Regions from separate parts of the Homo sapiens genome. Here region 2 is linked to region 1. Evidence: promoter capture Hi-C in human tissues and cell types (Jung and others, 2019). All regions are on one chromosome and are shown on one strand. Each heading gives the region's core, a stretch centred on a gene start or on the middle of the fragment in contact. The rest is flanking DNA. Distances are from core to core; before and after follow the strand shown. Region 1 holds the start of PRSS12 (serine protease 12). Region 2 has its middle 96 kb from the start of METTL14-DT.

Region 1 (3,702 bases), core at 755-3,254:
TGCATGGAAATTGGGTCTGCTTCTGGACCCCCAGGAAGCATGGAAGCAATGATTGTAGGGGTCAATGTGGGAAGGGGAGGGAGCAGGGTCCAAGCAGCCTCCCCACAGTCCTAAAATGAGCCTTCCCTGGGCCATCAGGTGTGTAGCCTAAGGTGGAAAAGCTAGTCAGAAAGAAAAAGGGCTGACCCCTGATAGAACTGTCACCTATTATTTCAAAAATCTGTGATTGATGAGCTCTGCCAACCCTCACTAAAATGAACAAATAGACTACTCCAGATATATATTTTATCTTTCATTGTCTTCCACAAGTATAGATTTAACTATGCTTTTGGAGCCAGAAAAGTATTAGTAAAAAAATAATGGGTAAAAACAACTGGAATGAAAACAACTTGAATAAAGATTTGACAAATACATCCCTGGACTCTTAACATCATTTCTTTTACCCAATTCTCTCTAAAGTAAAATCAAATATTTCATTAATAGGAGTGAAACAAAAAACAATAAAACGACCCACAAAATTAAAGATGGATTTTTTTTTTTTTTCTTGAGACAACGTCTCCCTCTGTCGCCCAGGCTGGAGTGCAGTGGCACGATCTCGGCTCACTGCAACCTCTGCTCCCAGGTTCAAGCGATTTTCCTGGCTCAGCCTCCCAAGTAGCTGGAATTACAGGCGTGCGCCAACACTCCCCCGGCTTTTTGTATTTTTAGTAAAGGCGGGTTTCATCATGTTGGCGACGCTGTTCTCGAACTCCTGGCCTCATGTGATCCGCCTGCCTGGGCGTCCCAAACTGCTGGGATTACAGGTGTGAGCCACCTCGCCCGGCTAAAGATGGCTTATTTAAAGCTAGTAGTGAATTAATTCAGTTCCTAATTGAAACCTAGGTTTTAACAATAAACATTTGAATTTTGTTCAAGTTTTCTTCAGGGTACATTATATTATGAGACAGCATTGCTTTTTCACAACGAAACGTGACCATGCCAGAAAATAAAATGTTGCCTTCTTTACGGGCTTCCTTCTCCTTGTCAAACTTTGGTAGCATAGTCAGAAACAACTGAAAGGCAAAATACTAAAACATACAGCTCCAGTAACTTTTTTTTTTTAAGATTCTAAGCCAACAGTTTTTTGGAGCCTGCGGGAGGGGGGCGAGGAGTGTTGAAAGGGCCCTACTAAGCTGAGGTCGAGCCAACAGTGAAGCTTCAAAATTGTCAGCAGGCAGAGTCTCTGGAGAGGCAAATGAATAGGCTTAACAGAAGTCCCTTGCCCTGCAAAAAACGAGGCAGGTGCTAGGGGGGTGGACTTTTTGGATAGGATGGAAACCGGGACGGATGAAGTCTTCTCTGGTTAGAGAGGAAATTTGGTATTAAGAGAGCCTCACTGAATCCCAATAATAACCAAACAACTGGTGTTGTCCAGGGCACCGGCTGGAAAGTGGGAGGCAGGAAGCAGAAAGGCTCAAGCTCCTTTCCCTGAGTCGGTTCAGGATTTTAATTTCAGCCAATGTTTATTGGGGCACGGTGTTAAGCACGGTGATATCAAGCTGAATAAAACGTGGTCTTGTCCTTGAAGAGCGTATAGTTCAGTGAAATGGCTTTAACATTCCTCGTGGGTTTTGATAACTTTTATCCTGGGAGTTGTCAGGGAAGAGCTGCATCTAAATCCATCCATACTTTGGTAAAGATTTCAAAACAGAGGAAGCAAGATACGGGGCGACGAGGTTGGAGGAGAGATGACGGCAGGGGCCGGTGCCAGATTTGGGAGCCGCCAACGCCGGGCTGTGCTGGTGCTGCATGCTGGCAAGGGGCAGCCAAGACCGTGCTCCGCGCGGGCACCCTCGGGCTCGGTCCCAGCAGCTGGCAGTGCCGTGCGGGCGGACTGCGGTGGGCCTGGCAGGGGCCGAGCGTAGGTCCGGAGCAGCTTGCGCGGCCGGCGCCCGCCCCCAGGGGGCAGAGTTCCCGGGCTCGTGCCTGCGCCGCTACCTGGGGCTCAGGCCCAACCGCTCCCCGCTGCGTCCGCGCCTTCTCTTTTCCGGTCCTCTCCGCCGGCCGGGGCTCGGCTGAGCTCCAGATTTCCCCACCCGCGGCCGCCGCCAGGGGACAGGAGCCGAGGCGCGGCAGGGCACCAGCGGCGGGAGGCAAGGTTGGGGAGGCGAGGGCGGTCCGCGTGCGGGGGCGGGAGGGGGCTGGGGGATTCGAGGGACGCGGCAGCCCCGCCCCCGCCCCCTCCTCTTCTCCGCTCCAAGCCCGAGAAGCTGGGGAGCATGGACCAGACCCCGCAGCGCTGGCACCATGACGCTCGCCCGCTTCGTGCTAGCCCTGATGTTAGGGGCGCTCCCCGAAGTGGTCGGCTTTGATTCTGTCCTCAATGATTCCCTCCACCACAGCCACCGCCATTCGCCCCCTGCGGGTCCGCACTACCCCTATTACCTTCCCACCCAGCAGCGGCCCCCGAGGACGCGTCCGCCGCCGCCTCTCCCGCGCTTCCCGCGCCCCCCGCGGGCGCTCCCTGCCCAGCGCCCGCACGCCCTCCAGGCCGGGCACACGCCCCGGCCGCACCCCTGGGGCTGCCCCGCCGGCGAGCCATGGGTCAGCGTGACGGACTTCGGCGCCCCGTGTCTGCGGTGGGCGGAGGTGCCACCCTTCCTGGAGCGGTCGCCCCCAGCGAGCTGGGCTCAGCTGCGAGGACAGCGCCACAACTTTTGTCGGAGCCCCGACGGCGCGGGCAGACCCTGGTGTTTCTACGGAGACGCCCGTGGCAAGGTGGACTGGGGCTACTGCGACTGCAGACACGGTTAGTGGCCTCGGGGCGGCCGCGGAAACTCCGGACGGGCTCGGAGCCAGTGAGGCTTGGGGCCGGCGTACAGGTCTCTTGGAAAAAGTGACGGGGTGTGTGGGGTTGTGGGCTTGCGTTTGCGGGCTGTGATGGTGGGCTGCAGCTGGGTTACCAGTAAGGTATACTGGTGCTGCAAATCTAAGCCAGCCAGGTGTGCTTGTGTGAAGGTTGTCAGGGGTGACAGTTCTATGCAAGGTGCTGAGCTCTGGGTTTCTGAATTTGCTCTGTCCTCTGGCCACTGTGTGTGTGTGTGCGCTCGTGTATTGGGTGACAGTGTGCTTTGGGCGTCTGTTCTCTAGATTAGCTTACGTTGAGTGGGTTACCATATTTACATTAAAGAGGCATAATTACTTGTTCTGGAAAGGGAAATGTTACATTAACGTGGCAATCAATAACCTTCCCTCCATTCTTTAGACTCCGATTTTTAAAAATGTGGTAAAATTTTGCCTTAATTTAGCTGTTGACCTCTGTTTTAAAAAGTATGGCAAAATTATGTGGCCAAAATCAGCCATATTCACATACTCCAGCTCAGTATGGTAAGTATCATCAGTGACTGGAAAAAAAGAAAGGGAAAAGAGATGGGAATACTACTATCTTGGTGAAGTAGCAACTTAATATAGTTATACACAGTTTTCCAGAGCCATTACTTAGCTTTATATGTTTTATCAGGATTAGTTGGTAACATCAGGAGATAAAGGTGGCAAAATGTTTTAGGTTTGTGGTAATAAAAGCATCACACTAATAAATTTAATGTAAATGAATAATCCAGCTTTGAACATTGCTTCATTTTGAATTGTTGGGATTTTGTTGAAATTAGGTTTTTTTTTTTGTTTAAAAACTGAGGAAGAAAAAATATCCTCAAAGTTTGAATT
Region 2 (3,658 bases), core at 970-3,469, 240 kb before region 1:
CTGTATCAGTCAAGGTCAACCAGAAGCAGAAGCATTAGGAGATTTTATAGAAGATAGAAATAGAGATATAGATACAGGTGTTAGAGATATAGAAATGATAGACGAGAGAAACAGAGATGAGAGATAGAAAAAGAAATATAGAGATGAGATGAAGATAGAGATAGAGATGGTAGGGACAGAGATAATAGAGATAGAAATAGATATATACAGGGTTTTGTTAGAGGTATGTAATTTGTCAGCATCGAAATGGAGTCACTTATGTTAAGATAACCTTGACAAATAGAGCCAGGGAAAGACATGAAGAGGATTCTCATGCTTACATGCCTGCTAACAGAAACGACCACCAAAAGCAATAAAAACTACAACTTAGCACAAAGGCTGTCACAACCTTACATAAAAAATACTCCTGCAAGGACATCTGCCCAGCGACTGCCTATACACTCTCGGACTGGCATCACCCTTGCTATTGTTCTCTGTAGCCCAGGATAATTATTTCAAAAACAATTATGTAATCCTCCTTATTTTTTCCTTTAAAAATCTTTGTCTTCCTTTAACCGCCCTGAATACCAACATAGTTTACTGCTGCATGCATATTTCCACTGCAGTGCTTTATTCCCAAATAAGTATCTTTTAGAGAGCTTCTCTCTGTTATTTAGGTTGACAGAGGTATTTAACCTTAAGCAATTGTGGGAGCTGGTTAAGTCATCTCTGAAAAGCTGTTTTTGTGTCTGAGGGAAGTTGACGTCTATAGGGTGGGCAGTTGAGAAGTGTGTTAGGCTGTTCTTGCATTGCTGTAAAGAAATACCTGAGACTGGGTAATTTATAAAGAAAAGACGTTTAAATGGTTCACGCTTCTGTAGGCTGTACAGGAAACATAGCTGCAGTATCGGCTTCTGGGGAGGCCTCGGGAAGCTTACAGTCATGGCAGACGAAGCAGGAGCTTGCATGTTGCATGGTGAAAGTAGGAGCAAGAGGATGGGGGGAGGTGCCACACACTTTTAACTAGATTTTGCAAGAACTCACTACTGTGAGAACAGCACCAAGGGGATGGTGCTAAACCATTCATGAGAATTCTACCCCCATGATTCAGTCACCTCCCACCGGGCCCTACCTCTAACACTGGGGATTACAATGCAACATCAGATTTGGGTGGGACAAGTATACAAACTATTAATATATCAGAAAGGAAAGATGGATATTAAAAGAGAGCAGGCCAGGCACAGTGGCTCACGCCTAATCCCAGCACTTTGGGAGGCTGAGGCAGGTGTATCATGAGGTCAGGTGTTCAAGACCAGCCTGGCCAAGATGGTGAAACCCGTCTCTACTAAAAATGTAAAAATTAGCCGGGCATGGTGGCAGATGCCTGTAATCCCAGCTACTCAGGAGGCTGAGGCAGGAGAATCACTTGAACCTGGGAGGCGGAGGTTGCAGTGAGCAGAGATAGCACCACTGCACTCCCGCCTGGGTGACGGAGCAAGACTCTGTCTCCAAAAAAAAAAAAAAGAGGAAGAGCAACGTGAAACCACAATAAGGAGCTGAGCTGGAGCCCACAAAAATGGACCGAAGTCTTTTTCAGTTCTTGCTGCATCTGAGCTTGATGGTGACCTTGAACGTCCTGCAGTAACCAACACCATCCAAGAGCTCAACACATACCCAGGAGTGGGAGAAGCTGAGGCAGGCTTGGGAGGGTGGAGCAGTTGCAGGCCTGACCCCTGCCTCATGCGAACAAGGTGAGCCAGGAGATGAGTGACAAGGTGTGTGAGCTACACAATGGCTGCAACTTTCCTTGCTCCCCGCAAATCTCCTGGAAGAATCTGTTTTGTGGCCCATCCCAACCAAAAACCAATAGGAAAGGTAATTTTGGGAAATGTAATTCAACCAAGCTAAACTGACACATTAAAAAACCACCAGAGCAACTAAAATAGCATTTGTGGGATAGCAGAGAATTTCAATTACCCATGTTCTTTCTTGTCCCAATTAGCATTGACAATCAAAAATGTGTCTGTGGGCGGTCTATCCAAGTTTATCACATAAGGAATTGTTTTATAATCACCTTTCCCTGTATTTGGAAATCCTGCCAGAACACTGTGATGAATTCACCACGTACACATAGCTCAAGCTGCTTTTTAATGGAGAGGGGATAAAAAGACTTACAAGAGAATACAAACCCACTAAATAATGCTAAAGAAAGATTCCATCTGTAGAGAACTTCCCCTCAATACCCATGGTCACAAGGAAAGAGGTGAGGGTATCTGCTCTAAGAAAGAACAAGGTTGACCAACTGCAGAATGAGCCAGAATAGAATGGGATAGTTAATGAACTTGAATTTTAGTTGCCTTAAAAGGATGATGATCCAAGCATGAGCTCTTGAGGTTAATGCAGTCTGATGCAGGAAAAACCTCAGTGGTAACACATGTTTTTTCCTAGGGATGGCCCAGAGGTCATTTTCCACTGTGAGACAGGAAAGACCTGGAAACAGCTTAATTAGGAAACAAAGTGTTTTAGTGGTGCTGAAAACTGGTGAAAGCAGCAGTCAGAATCCTTCATAGACACAGTGGCAAAGGGACTCCATTTGTGAGATCCAGACCAACTTCAATTGATCTCCAGTGGATGCAACCGTAGAGCCATCCCTGGTGGTCTGAGGGGAGAAAAGCAGCATCTGTCAATGGAACACCTGATGAAGACAGGCCCGCAGCAGAGAACAGCTGGCAGCAGAAGGGGCTGGGGGACTTCTCTTTAGGAGCTGGGTTTCTGGAAGCCAGGTAGGAAACACACACACACACACACACACACACACACACACAGCACTGTAACAATAAGGGCTGCAAGTTCTAAGTGTTCAGAAGATGTTTTAAAAGCCATAAAGATGGAACAAGGGCCAGATGCAGTGGCTCACACCTGCAGTCCCAGCAATTGAGAGGCTGAGGTAGGCGGATGGCTTGAGCCCAGGAGTTTGAGACCAGCCTGAGCACATAAGATGATCCTCTCTCTACAACAAAAAAATATAAAAATTAGCCAGGCATGGTGGTGCATGCCTGCAGTCCCTACAGGCTGAGGTGGTGCACATCGTTAGCACCTGAGCCTCCTGAGTAGCTGAGGGACTACAGGCAGTCCCGTATTGGCCCCAGTTGTTCATCCCTCCTTAAATCTATAATTTCTACTGTGTAAATTTGCAGTTCCTTCCACTCAAGATGTAAACTGCCCCAACTCATAACTTCAGGCTTGGCCATGTAACTTCCTCCTACCTCAGCCTCCTGAGTAGCTGAGGGACTCCCTGCTGAGGTAGGAGGATCGCTTCAGCCCAGGAGGTTGAAGCTGCAATGAGCTGTGGTCACACCACTGCACTACAACCTGGGTGACAGAGAGAGACCCTATCTCAAAAAACAAAAGATGGACCAAGACATGTATTAGGTCATTCAAGGGCCATCGAGTTCACAAGAGATGCAAGGAACATTGAGGATTTTGTGCTACTGGATTAAAGGAGAGTTCTACCTTTTATACCTTAAATTCTGAATATATATGCATTTTCAATTTCTTATTTCCAGGGGATTCAGGGACTCAGATTTCTCCCACCTCACACACACACACACATCCTGATCCAATAATAACAGACATACCCTTTCTATCCTTGCAACAGTCCTCTGAAGTAATCAAGGAA

The links. Contacts are between HindIII fragments. The study calls those that stand out against the background at their distance.
Region 2: a contact is called between a fragment that was not itself captured here and the fragment with the promoter of PRSS12 in region 1, in 2 of the 25 tissues and cell types used here (adrenal gland and mesendoderm cells).

What each region holds. Positions count from the first base shown.
Region 1 is chr4:118,351,305-118,355,006 of GRCh38, reverse strand. It overlaps PRSS12 (serine protease 12), which reads left to right and starts at 2,004. Exons shown (of 13, transcript NM_003619.4): 1 at 2,004-2,788. The coding sequence starts at 2,287. RefSeq lists silencers at 1,778-2,037, 2,068-2,147 and an enhancer at 1,414-2,259. The HindIII fragment of the contact is 10,666 bases long and covers 1-3,702 here.
Region 2 is chr4:118,587,739-118,591,396 of GRCh38, reverse strand. No RefSeq gene overlaps it. Among named protein-coding and RNA genes, the nearest start is that of METTL14-DT, 96 kb to the left of the region's middle. The HindIII fragment of the contact is 7,643 bases long and covers 1-3,658 here.